Linked DNA regions of Homo sapiens: all the other regions are linked to region 1. Evidence: promoter capture Hi-C in 16 types of primary human blood cells and fetal thymus (Javierre and others, 2016). All regions are on one chromosome and are shown on one strand. The core of a region is centred on a gene start or on the middle of the fragment in contact, and the rest is flanking DNA. Distances in the headings are between cores, read along the strand shown. Region 1 holds the start of TMEM130 (transmembrane protein 130). Region 2 overlaps TECPR1 (tectonin beta-propeller repeat containing 1). Region 3 overlaps BAIAP2L1 (BAR/IMD domain containing adaptor protein 2 like 1). Region 4 holds the start of PDAP1 (PDGFA associated protein 1). Region 5 overlaps BAIAP2L1 (BAR/IMD domain containing adaptor protein 2 like 1). Region 6 holds the start of LOC124901705 (a long non-coding RNA gene).

Evidence for each region. Contacts are between HindIII fragments. The CHiCAGO score rates a contact against its expected background, and 5 or more counts as called.
Region 2: a contact is called between a fragment that was not itself captured here and the fragment with the promoter of TMEM130 in region 1, in 8 of 17 cell types (naive CD8 T cells, total CD8 T cells, M0 macrophages and 5 more). The highest score is 7.1, in naive CD8 T cells.
Region 3: a contact is called between a fragment that was not itself captured here and the fragment with the promoter of TMEM130 in region 1, in 9 of 17 cell types (naive B cells, total B cells, endothelial precursors and 6 more). The highest score is 11.9, in naive B cells.
Region 4: the fragment with the promoter of PDAP1 here is called in contact with the fragment with the promoter of TMEM130 in region 1 in 2 of 17 cell types (M2 macrophages and monocytes); the score reaches 7.6 in M2 macrophages.
Region 5: a fragment that was not itself captured here is called in contact with the fragment with the promoter of TMEM130 in region 1 in 16 of 17 cell types (naive B cells, total B cells, M1 macrophages and 13 more); the score reaches 22.8 in naive B cells.
Region 6: a fragment that was not itself captured here is called in contact with the fragment with the promoter of TMEM130 in region 1 in 5 of 17 cell types (total B cells, naive B cells, total CD8 T cells and 2 more); the score reaches 7.3 in total B cells.

The regions. Positions count from the first base shown.
Region 1 is chr7:98,868,335-98,871,675 of GRCh38, reverse strand. It overlaps TMEM130 (transmembrane protein 130), which reads left to right and starts at 1,662. Exons shown (of 8, transcript NM_152913.3): 1 at 1,662-1,899. The coding sequence starts at 1,815. RefSeq lists enhancers at 1,592-2,177, 2,178-2,764. The HindIII fragment of the contact is 4,583 bases long and covers 1-3,291 here.
Region 2 is chr7:98,231,486-98,234,866 of GRCh38, reverse strand. It overlaps TECPR1 (tectonin beta-propeller repeat containing 1), which reads left to right. Exons shown (of 26, transcript NM_015395.3): 11 at 956-1,446; 12 at 1,895-2,040; 13 at 2,908-3,063. Among named protein-coding and RNA genes, the nearest start is that of TECPR1, 19 kb to the left of the region's middle. RefSeq lists a silencer at 2,864-3,064. The HindIII fragment of the contact is 4,336 bases long and covers 1-3,381 here.
Region 3 is chr7:98,331,763-98,334,839 of GRCh38, reverse strand. All of the region lies in intron 3 of BAIAP2L1 (BAR/IMD domain containing adaptor protein 2 like 1), which reads left to right. Among named protein-coding and RNA genes, the nearest start is that of BRI3, 52 kb to the right of the region's middle. RefSeq lists a silencer at 496-696. The HindIII fragment of the contact is 7,452 bases long and covers 1-3,077 here.
Region 4 is chr7:99,407,073-99,410,338 of GRCh38, reverse strand. It overlaps PDAP1 (PDGFA associated protein 1), which reads left to right and starts at 1,742. Exons shown (of 6, transcript NM_014891.7): 1 at 1,742-1,803. The coding sequence starts at 1,791. It overlaps BUD31 (BUD31 spliceosome associated protein), which reads right to left and starts at 1,370. Exons shown (of 6, transcript NM_003910.4): 1 at 1,094-1,370; 2 at 170-305. MIR12119 (microRNA 12119) reads right to left here and starts at 1,167; the gene lies at 1,075-1,167. RefSeq lists an enhancer at 1,314-1,703 and a silencer at 1,914-1,973. The HindIII fragment of the contact is 3,476 bases long and covers 1-3,104 here.
Region 5 is chr7:98,295,534-98,298,683 of GRCh38, reverse strand. All of the region lies in intron 12 of BAIAP2L1 (BAR/IMD domain containing adaptor protein 2 like 1), which reads left to right. It also overlaps a transcript of BRI3 not described here. Among named protein-coding and RNA genes, the nearest start is that of BRI3, 15 kb to the right of the region's middle. RefSeq lists an enhancer at 1,544-2,045 and a silencer at 2,656-2,770. The HindIII fragment of the contact is 4,957 bases long and covers 1-3,150 here.
Region 6 is chr7:98,270,445-98,273,574 of GRCh38, reverse strand. LOC124901705 (a long non-coding RNA gene) reads left to right here and starts at 2,612. Exons shown (of 3, transcript XR_007060446.1): 1 at 2,612-2,718. The HindIII fragment of the contact is 5,981 bases long and covers 1-3,130 here.

The DNA of each region.
Region 1 (3,341 bases), core at 413-2,912:
TTTTATTGTATACTTTATTTCTATTATGATTACATACTCACCATCATGTAGAATCAGTGGGAGCCCTGAGCTTGCTTTCTTGCAACTAGATGGTCCCATCTGGGGATGATGGGAAACAGTGACAGAACATCAGGCATTAGATTCTCATAAGGAGCACGCAACCTTGATCCCTCACGTGAGCAGTTCACAGTAGGGTTTGCGCTCCTATGAGAATCTAATGCCCTGCTGATCTGCCAGGAGGTGGAGCTCAGCGTGGCTCACAGGCCCTGCTCACCTCCTGCTGTGCAGCCAGTTCCTAACAGGCTATGGACTGGTACTGGCGGCCAGGGGCTTGGAGACCCCTGCTTTAGACGCCTTGATGTCAATGCACTGGGTGGTGCAGTGATGGTCCATCCGTGCTCCACGGGCCAGAGAGGAGGTCAAAGGCCCTCACTGTGTGGGAGGATCCCTCGCCCAGGTAGCCGTAGCAAAGCGGAAGCATAGCTGGGACCAGAACCCACCGGGCTTCCAGCGTTTAAGGCCAGCCAGGCCCCTCCAGCTTCTAGGAGAGCCCAGCCCTGCTCCTCTAAGGCAAATGGCAGTAACTGTGTAGGCTGGTCACCCCTCACCGCAGTAGCCTGACTCCCACAAGGCCCTCAGTGACAAAGAAGTTGCCCTGGGCCCAGATACGAGCAGGAGCCCCATCTTAACAGCAGCTGTGAGAGGGTAAACCGGGGGATGACATCAAGCCCACGGCAGGGGCCGGGTGCTCAGGCCCCTCTATCAAGAAGGGGCAAGAGGCTGGGCACAGTGGCTTACACCTGTAATCCCAACATTTTGGGAGGCTGAGGCGAGAGGATCACTTGAGGCCAGGAGTTTGAGACCAACCTGGCCAACATGGTGAAACCCCGTCTCTACTAAAAATACAAAAATTAGCCAGGCCTGGTGGCGGGCACCTGTAATCCCATCTTACTAGGGAGGCTGAGGCAGGAGAATCGCTTGAACCCGGGAGGCGGAGGTTGCAGTGAGCCGAGATCGCGCCATTCTGGGACAGAGCGAGACTCTGTCTCAAGATTAAAAAAAAAAAAAAAAGAAAAGAGGAAGCAGCAGCAGCAGCAGCAGCAAGAGGAATTTCGAGGCCTTTCGCCCAACGCCTGGCGCACCTTAAGCTCTCAACAGTTCTTGAATGAGGAGTAGCATCTCGGAGCCACGAGCGTGCAGAGAGAAGGCACCTGGAGGAGAGCCCCAAGGGACCTGCAGGCGGCTTGCAGCGCAGCGCACGCCCCTGGGGACGCTGAGTCAGAGCCGGCGGCATCGGATCCAGGGCGGGGAGGGGCTCGGGGGAAGGGAAAAATGCGGGTGCGGGGGGCGTGGTTTCGGGTAGTGGAGGGGAAGGATGCGGCCGGGGGTGGATTTGGGGTGGGGAGGGATGCGGGGAGGAGCCAGGGCGCAGGAAGGGAGCTCTGGAACCCCTAGAGGGGAAGCAAGCTGGGAGGGGCGATCGTGGACTCCAGGAGGGCAGGGGGCGCGGCCGTGGGAAGAGACCCGGAGAGGGAGGACGCGGCCGTGGAGAGGGACGCGGGAGCAAGGGGCGGCGGGAGGAGGAGGAGGGCGCGCGGCGCGGCTGACGTGGGCCGGGGTCGCGCAGCGGGCTGTGGGCGGCGGCGGCGGCGCGCAGCGACAGAGCGTCCCCCGGCGAGGACGAGCGAGCACGGCGCCCGCACCTCCCCGCACCGCCCGCGCTGCGCGCCCGGAGGAGCGACCGCCGCAGTTCTCGAGCTCCAGCTGCATTCCCTCCGCGTCCGCCCCACGCTTCTCCCGCTCCGGGCCCCGCAATGGCCCAGGCAGTGTGGTCGCGCCTCGGCCGCATCCTCTGGCTTGCCTGCCTCCTGCCCTGGGCCCCGGCAGGGGTGGCCGCAGGTAAGGCGCTGGGCAATCCGGCCTCCCTGCAGCCGCAGCCCGCCCGGGGCCTGGAACCGTCTCAGCGGGCGAGTGGGCCCGGGAGCAGGGATTGCGGAGGTGGCACCGTGCGCCCTGCGCGCATCTCCCTCCTCGGCTGAGGCCACTGCAGCGCCCTTTCCCCTCTCCTTTCATCCTTGTTCCCCAAAGTCGCCTGGGCACTGGAGGGGGCTCCCCGCACCCCCTGGATTCCTGCTTCCACCCCCCCAGGCTGGCCCTGCCCTGGAAACCGCGCGGGGGTGGCCGGCGCATCCGTCGATGCCTGGGGACCATGCACCCGCTAAGGGAGGGGAGGACGAGGCAGGGAGGCGGGGATGCGCCAGGGTCCGTCATCGCGCCACAATTCCCCAGTCCCCCAGGGAGCACGGGATGGGCAACGTTTTTGCCTTAAAATGTCGCCTCATCTAGAGGGGTTTCCCACCGTGTTGGTGCTGGCTTTGGGGAGATGCGAATTTAGAGCCCAGGAGGCCAGGCTGCCATTTCCTCTCTGGTGGTGATTTCCAAAATGGACCCGGAGCTGACAGGTTCCTGGGGTGTGTGTGTGGGTGGGGGAGTGGGGGAAGCAGGGTTGTGTGTCTACTGCCCCCACTTCCCCACCGCCAGAAAGCCAGCACCCACCTCTCTGCCACATTTTGGGAACCATAAAAGGACCCAGATTTAAGACTATTCGAGGGACAGATGGGACGTGGGCAGCTAAGAAGGTTGAATACTATCCACCACTTTTCACCCCCTCCCCCCTCATAAAAGAGCGGTGGAGAGAGAGAGCAAGGGATCTAATGAAAATTTGTGAAAGAAAAACCATGAGGTCAAAGAAAACCTGCAACTCAGGGATGAATTAGACGAATTTTATGGGAATTGCACTTGGACAAGATTACCTATTTCCTCCTGGAAATACAGGAAAGGGGTCTCTTGTCCATCAGGTTGATTTGTGTCAGAGATTTTCAATGTGTCCTAAATTGCAAAAGAAAAAGAAAATAATAACAAAAGTGAATTAATTATTTGGAAATCATGTGTGGTTCCCATTCTAGCCAATTGCACCCTTGATGTGGTCAAAATCACAGTGGCTAAGAGTGGAGTTGGGAAACATCTTCTCCCTCACCCGTCGGGGAGACTTTTCTACCCTTCCCCTTTCTGGAGTCCATGAATCAGGGATTTGTAAGTCAGAAGTCCATGTACTGGACTATTAATTAATTCTGGGTTGTGTTATCCAGACTTTAGAGGTACTCTTTGGAAGTGTTTTGGGTAGTCTGCATATTCTGTGTGAAAGGACTGGTGTAGCCATTTTCTAGAATGTTCAGGGCTGCACATGCTGTGTTGCTGGAAAAGGTAGGTGTTTCTTCCATGGGCCAAGCTTTGGGGTGAGTGCCCCATCTCTTTTTGCTTTTGCCCCTTGAGCTCTGGGT
Region 2 (3,381 bases), core at 593-3,092, 640 kb after region 1:
CTGTGGCATGGGCCTGTAGTCCTAGCTACTTACAAGGCAGAGGTGGGAGGATCACATGAGCCCAGGAGGTCGAGGCTGCAGTGAGCTATGATCACGTCACTACACTCCAGCCTGGGCAACAGAGAAAGACTCTATCTCAAAAAAAAAAAAAAAAAAAAAAAGACAATAACAAATGCTAGTGAGAACATGGAGAAATTGGAACTTCATACACTGCTGGTAGGAATGTGAAATGGTACAGCCACTGTGGAGAACAATTTAGCAATTCCTCAAGACATGAAACCCAGAACTGCCATGTGAGCCAGCACATCCACTGCTGGGTGTATATCCAAGAGGCTTGAAAACGCGTTTTAGTCCATTTTGTGTTGCTATAAGGGAATCCTGAAGCTGGTCTTTTATAAAGAAAAGAGGTTTATGATCGGGCGCGGTGGCTCACGCCTGTAATCCCAGCACTTTGGGAGGCTGAGCCCAGCGAATCACTTGAGGTCAGGAGTTCAAGACCAGCCTGCCAACATGGTGAAACCCCGTCTCTACTAAAAATACAAAAATTAGCCAGGCGTGGTGGTGCATGCCTGTAATCTCTCAGCTACTCGGGAGGCTGAGGCAGGAGAATCGCTTGAACCTGGGAGGCGGAGGTTGCAGTGAGCTGAGATTGTGCCCCTGCACCCCAGCCTGGATGACAGTGAGACTCCGTCTCAAAAAAAGAAGAAATACTAATTCTAGATCTTCACTCTCAGATATGTGGATGTGATTGGTCTGCAGGGTGGCCCAGGTGTCAGCTCCCTGGAAGCAGGTGCTGATGTATACCTTGCACAGAGGAAGAGACAGGAGTTCAGAGAGGTTCTGACTTGCCCAAGTTTCCACAGGCAGTCATGGTGGAGCACGCTGGAGCTGGGCCTGCCTGACAGCGCCTGTTCCCCTGCAAGGGAGTGATGGGTCTGCCCTGATTTGTCCCCAGTGCCGGCTGCTTCTTCGGTGATGAGGTGAGGGGTAGTGGCGAGTCTGCCCCCAGCGACACCGATGCCTCCTCGGAAGTCGAGAGACCAGGGCCTGGCCAGATTCTCCCTGCAGAACCTCTAGACGATTCCAAGAATGCCACAGGGAACTCAGCCTCAGGCCTGGGGGCTGGCAGGACCGCAGAAGATACCGTGGAAGATGCCTGCCCAGCCGAGGGCAGCAGGGAGGCCAGACCCAACACGCACCCCGGCCCGGCCCCCACCCCGGCCGAGCTGCCCTGGACCAATATTGACCTCAAGGAGGCCAAGAAAGTGCCCAGCCACTCGGCCGCTGGCTTCCCCGAGACCACCAGCCTCTCCTCTCTGGGGCTCCTCCCACTGGGCTTGGAGGAGCCGTATGGGGTGGATGACCACCCGCTGTGGGCCTGGGTGTCGGGAGGCGGCTGCGTGGTGGAGGCATGTGCCATGCCCAGATGGTTCACTGTCCAGGCGGGTAAGGGCTCCTGCAGGGCCTGGGGGCATCCACATGGCCAGGTGCCCTGGGGGTGTGGGGTGTGGGAGGAGGCCGGGGTCAGGGGGCTCGGGCAGGCCTGCTGTCCTCCCTGGACGCCTCACTGTGCTCAGCAGCTCTGAGCCAGGCATTGCGCTCCTCTGTGGCCTCCAGAGACCAGCCCGAGGCTGTCAGGACCTGGAAGCACGGTGGCCAGTGCCCCTTCCCCTGTCTGCAGCCCCTCCCCTGTGCTAGCGGTGGTGGCTGCTTTCCAGGCTGAATTACTGGGGGAGAGCAACTCATCCAACAGGGCAAAGGGTGGAAGGAGGCTTAACAGAGAGCGTAGCTTTTGAGCTAGAAAGGGCTGATTTGGTGGAGGGGAGCGCCGTGGCTTCCTGCCCAGCTGCGGGCAGGACAGTGCCCCGGCCCTGAGGCTCTCTCTGCCCCACAGGCCTGTCCTCCTCGGTACACATGCTGTCCCTGTCCATCACGCCGGCCCAGACCGCTGCCTGGAGGAAGCAGATCTTCCAGCAGCTCACGGAAAGGACCAAGCGGGAGCTGGAGAACTTCAGACACTACGAGCAGGCCGTGGAGCAGGTGGGTGCCCCGGTGGCTGCGCATGCATTTTTTTTTTTTTTCCAGCAATCATTCATTGAGCGCCTGCTGTGTACCAGCTCTGAGAGAAACAGATAGATGCCTCCATCCCCTGGTCTCCCGCCCAGATGCAGGCATAGAGAAATGAGCTCAGGGTTTCTTCGTCCATCCTGAAGACTTTGGTTTGGGCCTCACTGTGTTCCAGACTCGTTGGAGGCCCTGGGGACCCAGAGACGGCAGCAACCTCAGAGGGTGGTGGGTGGGGAAGGGAGGGTGGCCAGGGAGGGGAACCACGTCATCCTCTTCCTGCTGGAGGGAACCCCGGGCGCCCAGGGGTGTAGCGTGTGATTGCAAGGAGTTAGCACAGAGGGCGGCCGGAGACCCCACCCCTGGGCTGACCCTGCTTCTGCCCCACTATCCTGTGGCAGAGCCCGGCCCTCAGAGGTCAAGTGTGGGGGTGACAGGGAAGTCACACAGAGCATGTGACCTGCCTCATTCCAAAGGCCCCTGGACACAAGTAGGCTGTGGTTTGGGTTCTAGCTCTGCCGCTGGCTCACTCTGTGACACCAAAGCCAGGCACGGAACCCTCCCGAGCCTGTCTCCCCATGCAGAAGGCGGGATGGCAGTGCCCACTCTGGCTGTTTGAGAGAGAGGAGGTTGTACGGAACAGCCCTGGCTCAGCCTGCACCTATTGGGTGTCCGGCAGCGTCACTGTTATCATTAGCATAGGGGGAGCTGGGCTGACAGCCGGGAGTGCTGGGTGGGCCCTACCCCAGCCCTGCCTCCTCCTCTGGGCACCCCCAGCCCCGCCCTCCTCCCCTGGCACCCCGGGCCTGCCTGTGATGGTGTCCACTGCCCCGGCCTGCGCAGTCGGTGTGGGTGAAGACCGGGGCGCTGCAGTGGTGGTGCGACTGGAAGCCCCACAAGTGGGTGGACGTGCGCTTGGCCCTGGAGCAGTTCACGGGGCACGACGGCGTCCGGGACAGCATCCTCTTCATCTACTATGTGGTCCACGAGGAGAAGAAGGTGCCCACGGGTCCCACAGGAGATGGGGCCAGGGAGGGGACACAGGGCTGGGGTGCTAGAGGAGGGGTACAGAAATGGGGGTGCCCAGGGGAGGGGTACAGAAATGAGGGTGCCCAGGGAGGGACACAGAAATGAGGGTACCCAGGGGAGGGGTACAGAAATGGGGGTGCCCGGGGAAGGGGGTACAGAAATGGGGGTGCCCCAGGAGAGGGAGTACAGAAATGGGGGTGCCCAGGGGAGGGGGTACAGAAATGGGGGTGCCTGGGGAGGGGGTAAAGAAATGAAGTACCAAGGGAGGGGGCAGGGCTGGGGGTGCCA
Region 3 (3,077 bases), core at 356-2,855, 540 kb after region 1:
GCAAGGTGGCTCACGCCTGTAATCCCAGCACTTTGGGAGGCCGAGGCGGGCGGATCACCTGAGGTCAGGAGTTCGAGACCAGCCTGACCAATATGGTGAAACCACATCTCTACTAAAAATACAAAAAGTAGCTGGGCGTGGTGGGGGGCACCTATAGTCAGTCCCAGCTACTCGGAAGGCTGAGACAGAATTGCTCGAACCTAGGAGGCAGAGGTTGCAGTGAGCCGAGGTCGTGCCACTGCACTCCAGCCTGGGTGACGGAGCAAGACTCTGTCTCAAAAAAACAAAAACCCCTTAATGAGCCTCGTTATTTTGTGTGCCAGGCTGCAGATTCTGGGTTTGTATGTTCTTGTTTCAAATTGAAATAAGAATTGGTATTATTAGGACTAAAAGGTTTTGAGTTATTAAAAAAAAACTGACTAATATTTTAGAAGTATGAGTTCAAAGGTAAAATAAAAATTACTAGGTGACTGAAGAGGCATATTAAATGGTGAGCTCTTTACAATGAAGCTGGACTTTTAGACTCCAGAGTAAGCCTGTTCCTATAACTCTTGGGTGCACTGATGCTGATCTGTGTGACTCAGGCATTTAAACTCGAAGGCAGGGCTGTTAGTAGCTTCCATTTTTATAACTATAGAAATTTGTTACCTACTAAGATCTCTCTTTTTCTTCTTATTTGATTAAACATTTTAATCTTAGGCCATGTTTATTCTTCTGCCTAATTTCTCATTTCATATTAACATTTTAAAATAGCTTATGAGTCCCCCGGGAAGTTTAGAAATGTACTTTCATTTTAAAATGGGAATTAAAATATACTTTATGTGTTTTTTAAATGTATACCTTTACTGAGAAATGAACCTAATAAACATCAAACTCAATTTCTAACTTTATTATTTTTAAATGCCTCTTTTTACATAATTAAACCCTGTGCCTATAGACTTTGTGCACCGCTTTTTAAAATGTAACATTCCACACATGAGCCTTGGCACCATCGTGGAGCCGTGAGCCAGGGAGGAAGATGAAGACTGGAGTACTGGGATTGGGTACAGGGTTTGTTTCTTCTTGGTTCGTGGGGAAAATTGTCCCTTAGTTTGGGGAGGGTGGGCGGGGTAGTTATCCCTTGGTATTCTGAAAATGACATAAAACCAAATGTCTAATAATCAAGAAATTGCAGTAGTTTTTCTTTGATATTTAAATACCAGTGTGCTCATTTATTTTATATTTATTTATTTATTTATTTTGAGACAGAGTCTTCCTCTGTTGCCCAGGCTGGAGTGCAGTGCCATGACCTCAGCTCACTGTAACCTCCACCTCCCAGGTTGAAGTGATTCTCCTGCCTCGACATCCTGAGTAACTGGGATTACAGGCGCCCACCACCACGCCCAGCTAATTTTTTGTATTTTTAGTAGAGGTGAGGTTTCACCAAGTTGGCCAGGCTGGTCTTGAACTCCTGACCTCAGGTGATCCGCCTGCCTCGGCCTCCCAAAGTGCTGGGATTATAGGTGTGAGCCACCGCACCTGGCCCAGTGTGCTCATTTAAATGAACATCTCCTGTCTCGTAGGCATTGTTCTAGTTGCTGGGGATAAATCAATGAAACAGAAGTCCCTGCCATCAGGGAACTAACATTCTAGTGGGGTGGACAGATAAACAAGTCTAATATCCAGGTAGTAATAAGGCAAGGGGCCACTGAGTGATAGAAGGGGTGGGATGCAGCTGTTTTAGGTAGGGTGGTCAGGGACGTGCACTGCGGGGAACTCATCAGGCAGGTGTCTGGGGAGAACATTCTAGTGGGAGCTGGCAAGTGCAAAGGCCCTGAGGCTTTAGTGGGCTTGGGTCACACATGTAAGCCAGTGTGGCTGAGGGGCAGGCGAGGATGAGGTCTGCAGACAGAAGGCATGAGGCTGGGTCGCGTAGGGCTTTGAGAGTCCTGGCAAGGGCTCTACCTCTTAACCCCGGGTGCAGATGGGGCTTCTGGAGGTTGTCAACTGAGGAGAGATGCCAGCTAACTTTTTTTTTTTTTTTTTTTTTTGGGGACGAAGTCTCATTCTGTAACCCAGGCTGGAGTGCAGCGGCGTGATCTCGGCTCACTGCAACCTCTGCCTCCCAGGTTCAAGTGATTCTCTTGCCTTAGCCTCCTGAGTAGCTAGGATTACAGGTGCCCACCACTAGGCCCAGCTAATTTTTTGTATTTTTAGTAGGGATGGGGTTTCACCTTGTTGGCCAGCCTGGTCTCGAACTCCTGACGTTGTGATTCGCCTGCCTTGGCCTCCCAAAGTGCTAGGATTACTGGTGTGAGCCACTGCGCCAGGCCTGTATACTTTGTTATACTTTTTAGAGGAGACATCTTTACTAAGTACTACCTTAGGTATTGGAAGACTAGATTGTACCTCACTGAAAAGGTGACATTAAATATCTAGAATGTTGTCTTTTTTTTTTTTTTTTTTTTTTTTTTTTTTGAGATGGAGTCTTGTTCTGTCACCCAGGCTGGAGTGCAGTGGAGCGATCTCGGGTCACTGCAACCTCTGCCTCCTGAATTCAAGCAATTCTCCTGCCTCAGCCTCCCGAGTAGCTGGGATTACAGGTGTGCGCCACCACACCCGGCTAATTTTTATATTTTTGGTAGAGACAGAGTTCCACCATGTTGGCCAGGCTGGTCTCTAACTCCTGGCCTCAAGTGATCCACCCGCCTCAGCCTCCCAAAAGTGCTGGAATTACAGGTGTGAGCCACTGCGCCCAGCCCTGTTCCTTTCTTTATGTAGATCCAAAGTTCCGACCTATGTGATTTTTGTCTCTGAAGAACTTCTTTTAACATCTTTTCCCAAGTCAGACCTACTGGTAACCAATCCCCTCAGTTTTTGTTTGTCTGAGAATGTCTTTATCTCTTCTTCACTTTTGAAGGATGATTTTACTGAAGAATTCTATGTTGGTGAATTTTTTCTTCCAACACTTAAGTATTTTACTCCACTCTCTTCTTGCTTGCATGGTTTGTAAATAGAAGTCTGATGTCATTCTTATCATTGTTCCTCTAGAAGCAAGGTGTTCTTTTCCTCTGGCTTTTAAGATTTTTCTTGGCTAG
Region 4 (3,266 bases), core at 493-2,992, 540 kb before region 1:
GCTGAGGCAAGAGGATCACTTGAGCCCAGGAGGTTGAAAGTCTTCAGTTAGCCATGTTCACACTACTGCACTCCAGCCTAAGTGACGGAGTGAGACCATGTCTCAATAACAAACAAAACAAAACAAAACATAAAATAAAAAGGGAAAGATGACTGTAAAATCAAAGTACCTTAGGATGTGCTTTCCAAGAGTATAGACAGCAGAAAGATCTCTCGTCTCTGCAGTTGCAGGCTTGGATTCTTGTTCAGCTCTAAAAAATTATTCTGTGACTTTCAGGTCACCTTCCCTCTCTGGTCCTGTTTCTTCTGTAAAATGAGGGCAGTGGATTGGCTGATTGCCAAGGTCTCTTTCACACCAAACAACATATTACATAAAGTCAGGTAGTTCCCATACAAGAGGCCGATCCCAATCTAAATAGCAAAGCGTTTTTCAAACCACACAGCATTTCCTTGCTGCCAGAGAGAACCCAGGTTAAGTATTTACCTTTCAGCATAACAGATTCATCTCTCTCAAATTCATTCAGTCACTCCCTTCTGTACTGACACTTTACAAAGACCCACCCCCCCCCCGCCCACAGAGCCTCCTCTCATGAACTCTCTAAAACAACCATATAGAGGAGGAATCAAACTCTATAAGGTAGAATCAGGGTCACACAGCTGAGAATTTGCAAAACCTGACTCTGGAGGGCTCCTGACTCCCAAATCAGTGGTCTTCGCACTAGTCTCCCCTACGCTGAAGCTAAAAATAGGTGAATTCTGGTCTCGGCCCCAAGGCGCATAGTCTGTGACAAGAGAATGATCGCTTTTCTACGACCCAGGGAAATTCGAGGGCCCTGATCCAGCCTGGAAGTCAGAAGAGGCCTCTCGGAGGTGAAAATGGTAGGCGGTAACCAGATCGAGGAGAAAGAGGACGTAGGAGGTAATCAGATCGAGAAGAAAGATGTGCCGGGAGGTGTAAGAGAGATTGGGGCGCTAGGGGAAGGAGGCGAGGAGGAGCGAAGGAAGATAGTGCAGGATTGTAGGGAAAACTCATAAAAAGGACAGCATCTGAACCCAGCTTAGAAAAACAATCAGAACACAGAAGACGTTCCTACCAGAGGAAACGGCGCGAGAATCCTAGAGGAAAACCCCCAAATCTACCGTCCCCTCAGAAGAACGAACGTGGCGCCGCCTCCTCTCGGGAGCTCTCTCCGGCCTCAAGGTCCAAAGCCCGAACACATCCCAGTGGCTGGCTGAGAGTCCAGCCACTCATATCTCCCTCCAGGACGGTGCAGACCACCGGTCTCCCGCCTCAGCCGTTGCCAAGGTAATCGAGAACAGAGGGAAAACACATACCGGAAGCTCCTGGAGCTTGGGTAGCTGCTTCTCGACAGAAGGCTTCCGCTCTTCAGGCGATCTCTAAGGCATGAGGTCCTTGCGGAGCCCCGCCCTACCCGCGCGGAGATTGCGTCATCTTAGGTGTCCTCAGCAATGCCTGTATAGAATTCCAGAGCCGCTGTTGCCATTTGCCCTCACTTCCGGTGGGTGGCAGGCAGGGCCACGCGTCTTCCCGAACGGAGAGACTAGGGGCGTTGTTGCCTGGCAGCAGACGGGCAAGCCTGGACTTAGGCGGCGCGCAGGACGGTCCGACTTCGTGCGGAGGCCTCCCTGAGGTCCGGGTCCTTGCGGCCACTGCGGCCACTGAAGCGGCGGCGGCGGCTGGCCCAGGAGGAAGAAGTCGAGCCCAAGCTATTTCCGGTTCCGGTGTCAGTTCGAGGCGCCGCCGCCGCCGCCGCAGCCGCCGGAGCCGCAATGCCTAAAGGAGGTGAGGGGCGGGCGCCGGTGGCCCGCAGGCCTGGAGGGGCGGCCCAGGTCCGGCTTCCGCTGTCCCCTCAGCCCGTGCGCGTCTCTGAGAGCAGCGCAGAGGGAGGCTGTCCGCACCGGCTGAGAGCCAGGCCTGGGCCTCGACGCCCAATTGTCCCGATGGGGAAACTGAGGACTGTGGTGTCCCAGAGTCACTCCGTCAGTGGTCTGAGGAGTTTCGGAAGCTCTGGGTCCTCGCCGGCCTAGAAAGCCGGATCTAGGATGCGCTTCTCCGGGTCTAGGGGTTCTGGAATTTATCCCACTCTTTGGCTGGCTAGGAACTGAGTCACCGCGTCCCGCGCTTGTGCCGGGCCCGCCTGCCTCTCGCGTAAAACGTGGGCTTTTTCTGGCTTCGGTTCAGCCAGGCCTGCCTAGGAGGACTTAAGGAGATGCCCATGAGCCTTCCAGACCTGGTTTCGACTCCCCCGTTCGGTAGCGGCTCGGTGTGTTCCTTTGAGCCAGTCGCTCCACCTCCTGTGTCTCCGTTTTCTCATTTGCCAATGGGAATAACGATTGTACCTACCTCTTAGTACTGTTGGGAGGCTTCAACTAGGTAATCCACGTGGAGTGCGCAGTACAGTGCCAGGCAGTCGTTAAAAGTGCCCAGTGAAGCAGTAACTATTCTTATTTTTAAGGCTTTGCCAGCTCTTGATCTTGTAAGTAGGTTCATGACTGCCCAGTCCATTGTAGCCCGTCCTCTATCTTCTAGCCCGTTCTCTATCCTGTTTCCCCCTTTAGAATCGATAGTCCCCAGTTTGAATCCCAGCTATGTCACGTCTAATTCTGTGGCCCTGAACAAGTTAACCTCTTCCTCATCTGAAACACTGGGCTAATCCTTAGCTTGTTGAATTGGGGCCGGGGTGGTAAAATTATAGCGCTCATAAAGTGCCTGGCCACCTCCTGGCACAGAACAAATATATTTGTGTTGGTAGCTCATGTGTTATATTGGTTAATGCACTCAACCCACAGAAACATCTGCCTGTAGCGTTTTCAAACCTAAATCGCTTCCTGACTCCAGAGATAATTGGGCATTACAGAGCTAAATGTGTTTAAACCTAGCTCTCTACTGATTTATTCTGTGGCTGGAAAAGTCTCTCTGCTATTGTTCCCCAGTCCCTTCATCTGTAAAAGGAGGTTGCTGAATGAGCCATCCTCCCTCCGAAGTTTTACTTAATGGATACTTTGGGTAAAGGTTGGAGGTTACAACGATAAAACCTTAAATATGAATTCATAGCTAAATGGTCTTTGGGCTTGTGAAAAGCTTTTTGGGGTAGACAAGGTTTACATTTTCTTGGGTTAATCTGAAAACCACAAAAAACCGTGAAGGTGTTAAAAGTATCAAACTCCCTAAGAGCAAAGGACCAACGCTTGTTTCCATTATGTTAAGTGCAAATCGTTTTTTAAAGTCTTGAAGAGTCTACTATA
Region 5 (3,150 bases), core at 395-2,894, 570 kb after region 1:
TATATCCCAGGCCAAACACTGGGATCCATGAGAGCTGGGAAAGCATCCTCATGTTTTTTTTGTTTTGTTTTGAGACAGAGTCTTGCTCTGTCACCCAGGCTGGAGTGCAGTGGCACCATCTCGGCTCACTGCAAACTCCACCTCCTGGGTTCACGCCATTCTCCTGCCTCAGCCTCCCGAGTAGCTGGGACTACAGGCGCCCGCCACTACGCCTGGCTAAGTTTTTTGTATTTTTATTAGAGATGGGGTTTCACCGTGTTAGCCAGGATGATCTCGATCTCCTGACCTTGTGATCCGTCTGCCTCGGCCTCCCAAAGTGCTGGGATTACAGGCGTGAGCCACCGCACCCAGCCCCTAATGTTTTTTAAAAGCATTTTTATACATGGTTTTATATCCAGCTCCTGTGAGTTACAGGTCGTGTGACACTGGAATGCTTAACCTTAGGTGTCCATAGAGCATCCCACTCACCTGGGAAGCCCCACAGCTGTCCTGTGACGGCGCGTCTTATTAGACGATCTGAGAGCAGGGGCTTCTCCCAAGGGGGCAGGGGAGACTTGCCAGGACTCAAGCTAGGGGTTTGCCACAGGTCACGTGATATCTCTTTAAGTTTTTATTAACAATGATAAGATCCTGTTATGTTGCCCAGGCTGGTCTTGAACTCCTGACCTCAGGCAGTCCTCCTGCCTTGGCCTCCCAAGGTGCTGGGATTACAGGCGTGAGCCACTGTGCCCGGCCTGAATTTTTTTAATTTACGTATTTTCTACTGCAGTTCCAAGTGAGGAAGTATTGGCTCCCTCCCAACATTTTAAATAAGCACACAGCTCTCCTTTGTAAAAGCAAGCCTGCATTTCACAGCGCGCCCTCACGTGGCGTGAGCCCCTCCTGAGAGCCGCCAGTGCCCCCGGTGCAGGCCTGCACGCATCTTCGTTTGCGTCACAACATGGGTGCCTCGGCTTCCAAAAAGATCCCAGTGGCTCGGAGCAGTTGGCTTTTCCCTGTTTGGGCCTCAGCGTCCCCCTTTTGAGAATAAAGGGGTTGAACTAGATCAGAAGTGAACTGGAAGACAAGTCCGGGCCACAGACGAGGACTGGAATGGGTTTTCACACTGAAGACAGGTGTCAGTGAGGGCCACTTTTGTTGCGAGTAACTGGCCTCCAGCTGGCTTGGAAATGTTCCTTAGGGCTGTTCCATTCTGCTCAGGAGCAAGGCCACCTGCACTGGCCCTGTTCACTCTGTCCTGCCCTCTGCAGTGAGGGCCACCAGCATTCTCTGCTGCAGCCCAAGGGAAAAAGTGGTGCTCGGTGCTCCGAGCTGCCCGGGACCCCTCTGAAAGCCAGGTCAACTAGTCCCCCAACCTGGGCGCATGGCTATGTGGTGGGCACCCTGGAAGCTCCGTACAGTCGGGAAGGGGGTGTGGACCAGGCATCGAGTGATGGGTGGTCAGCCAGTGTCCACACACACATTTTGGATTCTTGGATTCTTGCGGGAGATGGGGGATCACAAGATGTGTCCACCCTGGCCGCAGTCAGCCGCTTGGTGGCCTCGCTCTATAGTCTCCAGTTGCAGCCCAACCACTCTCGTAGTGGCTGCTGGTTTCGTGGCCTTAGTGGTCTCCTGTCTTGTTGGGGACACAGGACATGCAGCAGGCAGTGCCCGCGGGGCCCTGGGTGCCGGTGGCAGTGCTGCCTGTGGCTTGGAGGTGTCCCCCACTGCAAGGAAAGGGAACAGAGAGGAGGGCAGGTCTATGTTCAGTGACCACCACAGTGGGCTGAGTGTGAGGTATGCGGTTGAGACAGGGACGCAGGGAGGATGCTGTGAGACCCTTGGGGGCCACCAGATAAGAGGCACCGTATGTGCCAAGCCCCTGCCCTCGTGGGTCTCCTTTGCAGTGGAGAGGGAGGCAGAGAGGCTCCTGCCAGCCTTGTATCCAGAAGGAGTGCTGGGGTTTCAGGTCCCTGAGAAACATGCAGATGTTAAACGGGAAATCTGCCTGAACACGTCCAATATGTTTTTGTTGTTTCTGTTTTTGTTTTGTTGGTTTTTTGTTTTTTTGTTTTTTACAGATGGAGTCTCACTCTGTTGCCCAGGCTGGAGTGCAGTGGTGCAATCTCAGCTCACCACAACCTCTGCCTCCCTGTTCAAGCGATTCTCCTGCCTCAGCCTCCTGAGTAGCTGGGATTACCGGCGTGCGCCACCACACCCAGCTAATTTTGTATTTTTAGTAGAGACGGGGTTTCTCCATGTTGGTCAGGCTGGTCTCGAACTCCCGACCTCAGGTGATGCGCCCACCTCAGCCTCCCAAAGTGCTGGGATTACAGGCATGAGCCACTGTCCCTGGCCCAATACATATTTTAAAGTAAACATTGTATTACAGAATACCACAGACAGAAAAGCACACAATGAATTTTCATGATGTGACTCCGTATACCCAGCAGGACGTTCCCGGCCCCCACGATCACCCAGCATGGCCCACCTCCGTGACCATCCCTTCTCCAACACCAGACTCCCCAAGCCCTGGCACAGAGATGGCTGTCTGGGGTGGCCCCGTAGGGACAGTCGCTCAGTGCTGTGTGGTGACCTGCTGTCTGCACAGAAGCTGGTTCTGACTCTCCCATTGACGGGCGTCTGGTGTTTCTGGTCTGGGCTGTTTCTCCAGGGCTGCCCGAGTGTCTCGGTGCCCATGGGTGTGTGCCCTGCTTGTTCCTACAGGGAGCAGGATTGTTGGGCCCCAGGCATGCGTGCACGGGGTTGGCCCAACACTGAGTGGCTTCCAGCTGTCATCTTAAGCGTTCTTTTTCCTCCTCAGTCCTCCTGGCAGGAGTCGGTGCTTCTTGCTGCGTTCTTTGTGAGGATTTACTGGGACCTTTTTAAAGTCCCGTGGGGGCCCAGGAGGCTCTGAACAAGCTCCGGGGTGTGCTTGGGGTGGGTGGAGGGTGTTTCTGGTTTCTAGTTTGGGAAGCGCCTTCCCCTAGCATAAGCTGCACATGTGAGGGAGATGGTGTTGGCCCCAAGGAGTCAGATGACTCCAGTGGGAGAGGAGGGGAGGGCAGAGTGGAGTCAGGATTGGCATGAATCGTGCCTCAGGCCCAGCCATGGCCCTTCTGCAACAGAGTCCACGAATGCCAGCACCGTGAGCACATGCGACAGGCA
Region 6 (3,130 bases), core at 588-3,087, 600 kb after region 1:
CACCTTGAACTCCGTCTCCTGGGTTCAAGCGATTCTCCTGCCTCAGCCTCCTGAGTAGCTGGGATTACAGGCACCCACCACCACGCTTGGCTAATTTCTGTATTTTTAGTAGAGATGGGGTTTCACCATGTTGGCCAGGCTGGTCTTGAACTCCTGACCTCAGGTAATCCAACTGCGTTGACCTACCAAAGTGCTGGGATTACAGGCGTGAGCCACCGAGCCTGGCCCCCATCTCTACTTTTAAAAATAAAGAAAAAAGAAAAATAAACTGAAGCCAGGCACGGTGGCTCATGCTTGTAATCCCAGCAATTTGGGATGCCGAGGTGGGCAGATCATGAGGTCAGGAGTTCCAGACCAGCCTGGCCAACACAGTGAAACCCCGTCTCTACTAAAAATACAAAAATTAGCTGGGCATGGTGGCAGACACCTGTAATCCCAGCTACTTGGGAGGCTGAGGCAGGAGAATCACTTGAACCCGGGAGGCGGAGGTTGCAGTGGGCTGAGATCACACCACTGCACTCCAGCCTGGACGATAGAGCTAGACTCTGTCTCCACAAATTAAAAAATTTTAAAAAATAAAATAGGCCGGGCACGGTGGCTCACGCCTGTAATCCCAGCACTTTGGGAGGCCGAGGCGGGCGAATCACAAGGTCAGGAGATCGAAACCATCCTGGCTAACATGGTGAAACCCCGTCTCTACTAAAAATACAAAAAATTAGCTGGGTTCGGTCGTGGGCGCCTGTAGTCCCAGCTACTCGAGAGGCTGAGGCAGGAGAATGGCGTGAACCTGGGAGGCAGAGCTTGCAGTGAGCAGAGACTGCGCCACTGCACTCCAGACTGGGCGACAGAGCAAGACTCCGTCTCATAAGTAAAATAAAATAAAATGAATAAAATAAAATAAAATATAAAATAAAATAAATAAAAAATAAATAAATAAAATAAAATAAATTGAGAGTGCCTAGATGGCAGGGAAGATGCCAGTGGAGATGACTGATGCTCTTTGGGATCTCACTCGATAGTTTTGGAGATTACAAGTGTCATTCAGGGAAAATGAGGCACCTCTGTGACTTTTCTATTCTCTATCAGATGACAATGAAAGTTATCCTGATTGTTGGCCAGGCGAGGTGGTTCACGCCTGTAATTCCATCACTTTGGGAGGCCGAGGCGGGTGGATCACCTGAGGTCAGGAGTTCAAGACCATCCTCGCCAACATGGTGAAACCCCGTCTCTACTAAAAATACAAATCTTAACTGGGTGTGGTGGTGCACACCTGCAATCCCAGCTGCTCAGGAGGCTGAGGCAGGAGAATTGCTTAAACCTGGGAGGTGGAGGTTGCAGTGAGCCAAGGTTGCGCAACTGTACTCCAGCCTGGATGACAGAATAAGACTCCATCTCAGAAAAAAAAAAAAAAAAAAGTTATCCAGACTGACAGAAGGTCTTTCCCTATGGGATCTGTTAGCTGTGGTTTAATTTATGATGGCATGTTCTCACTTATATGTGGGAGCTAAACGATGGGTACCCACAGACATACTGAGTGGCAGAATAGACATTGGAGACTGAAACAGGTGGGAGGGCAAGAGGGGGGTGAGGTCTGAAAATCACCTGTTGGGTACAATGTTCACGATTCTGGTGACAGGTGCACTGAAGGCACAGACTTCAGCACTATGCAATACCTGCATGTAAGGCATCTGTCCTTGTGGCTGGCTGGCTGCAGTGTCTCACGCCTGTAATCCCAGCATTTTGGGAGGCCAAGACAGGAGGATTGCTTGAGCCCAGGAGTTTGAGACCAGCCTGGGCAACACAGCAAGACCCCGTCTCTACAAAAAAAAATTTAAAAATTAGCCAGTCATGATGATGTGCACCTGTGTTCCCAGCTACGCAGGGTGCTGAGGTGTTTTAAGGCTGGGAGGTTGAGGCTGCCGTGATTTGTGATCGCGCCACTGCACTCCAGCCTGGGCAGCAGAGCGAGACTCCATCTCAAAAAAAAAAAAAGCCGGGCACGGTGGCTCATGCCTGTAATTCCCTCACTTTGGGAGCCAAGGTGGGCAGATCATTTGAGGTCAGGAGTTCAAGACCAGCCTGGCCAACATGGTAAACCCCATCTATACTAAAAATACAAAAACTAGCTGGGTGTGGTGGTACACACCTGTAATCCCAGCTACTTGTTAGACTGAAACAGGAGAATTGCTTGAACCCAGGAGGCGGAGATTGCAGTGAGCCGAGATCGCGCCACTGCACTCTAGCCTTGGGCAACAGAGCGAGACTCCGTTTCAAAAAAAAAAAAGAAAAAGAAAAAAGAAATCTGTACTTGAACCCCCTGAATACATAAACATTATAAAATTGAAATAATCTATGATGGTAGAGAGAATTGAAGTGGAATTTGAGGCAAACTTGTCCCCAGTCACCAGAGCTCTGAGTTTGGTGACAGGAGGCATCATCTTTGGTTAGGATGAAGCAGAAAAATGACCACTCCCAGGTTGAGATGGAGAGGTCACTTCCTTTGGTCAGTAAGGGAGCGGCTTTCAGGACTCACCCCCAAGCAATGATGTTTGGGGGGACCCTCTCAGGGCCTATAAGGATCTGGGTCTCCTCCTCTCCGTCATTATTCTATTTTGCCAGCAGTGCCCAGAACTCGGTTCTGCTTCAAGCCGCAGAGTGGAGGAGAAGGCACCGAGGCTTGGAGATGCTGTTTCATAGAGTCTTGGCTTTGCAGCACATGTGAGCTTGGGGGGCAGCAGTGGGGAGGGGTTCTCCAAAGAAGAGAGGCTGCCATGGGCGAAGAGACAGAGGGAAGGAGCCCCCAGGGCCTCCCGATGCCACTGTGGCAGGAGGGTCCCCTCTCCACTCCCCCATCCCTTCTCCCCAGCAGGTAGCCCCCATCCTCTCTCTGGCCCAGCCCACCCTCCACTGCCTCCCTGGTCTGTTCCGGGGGCTCCTACCTTCAGCTTGCACTGTGGAGGCCATGGCTGTTCTTGGGGACACGCCCAGGAATGATGCGGGGATGCCTCAGTACGGGGCAGCGGAAAGCCCCCTTAAACTCCAGCAGAAGCCAAGCAGTCACCGGTGGGCCAGCGACCGACATGAAGGAGGGACCGGACAGATGGCCAGGGGGAAGGAGCCATCGGGGGCG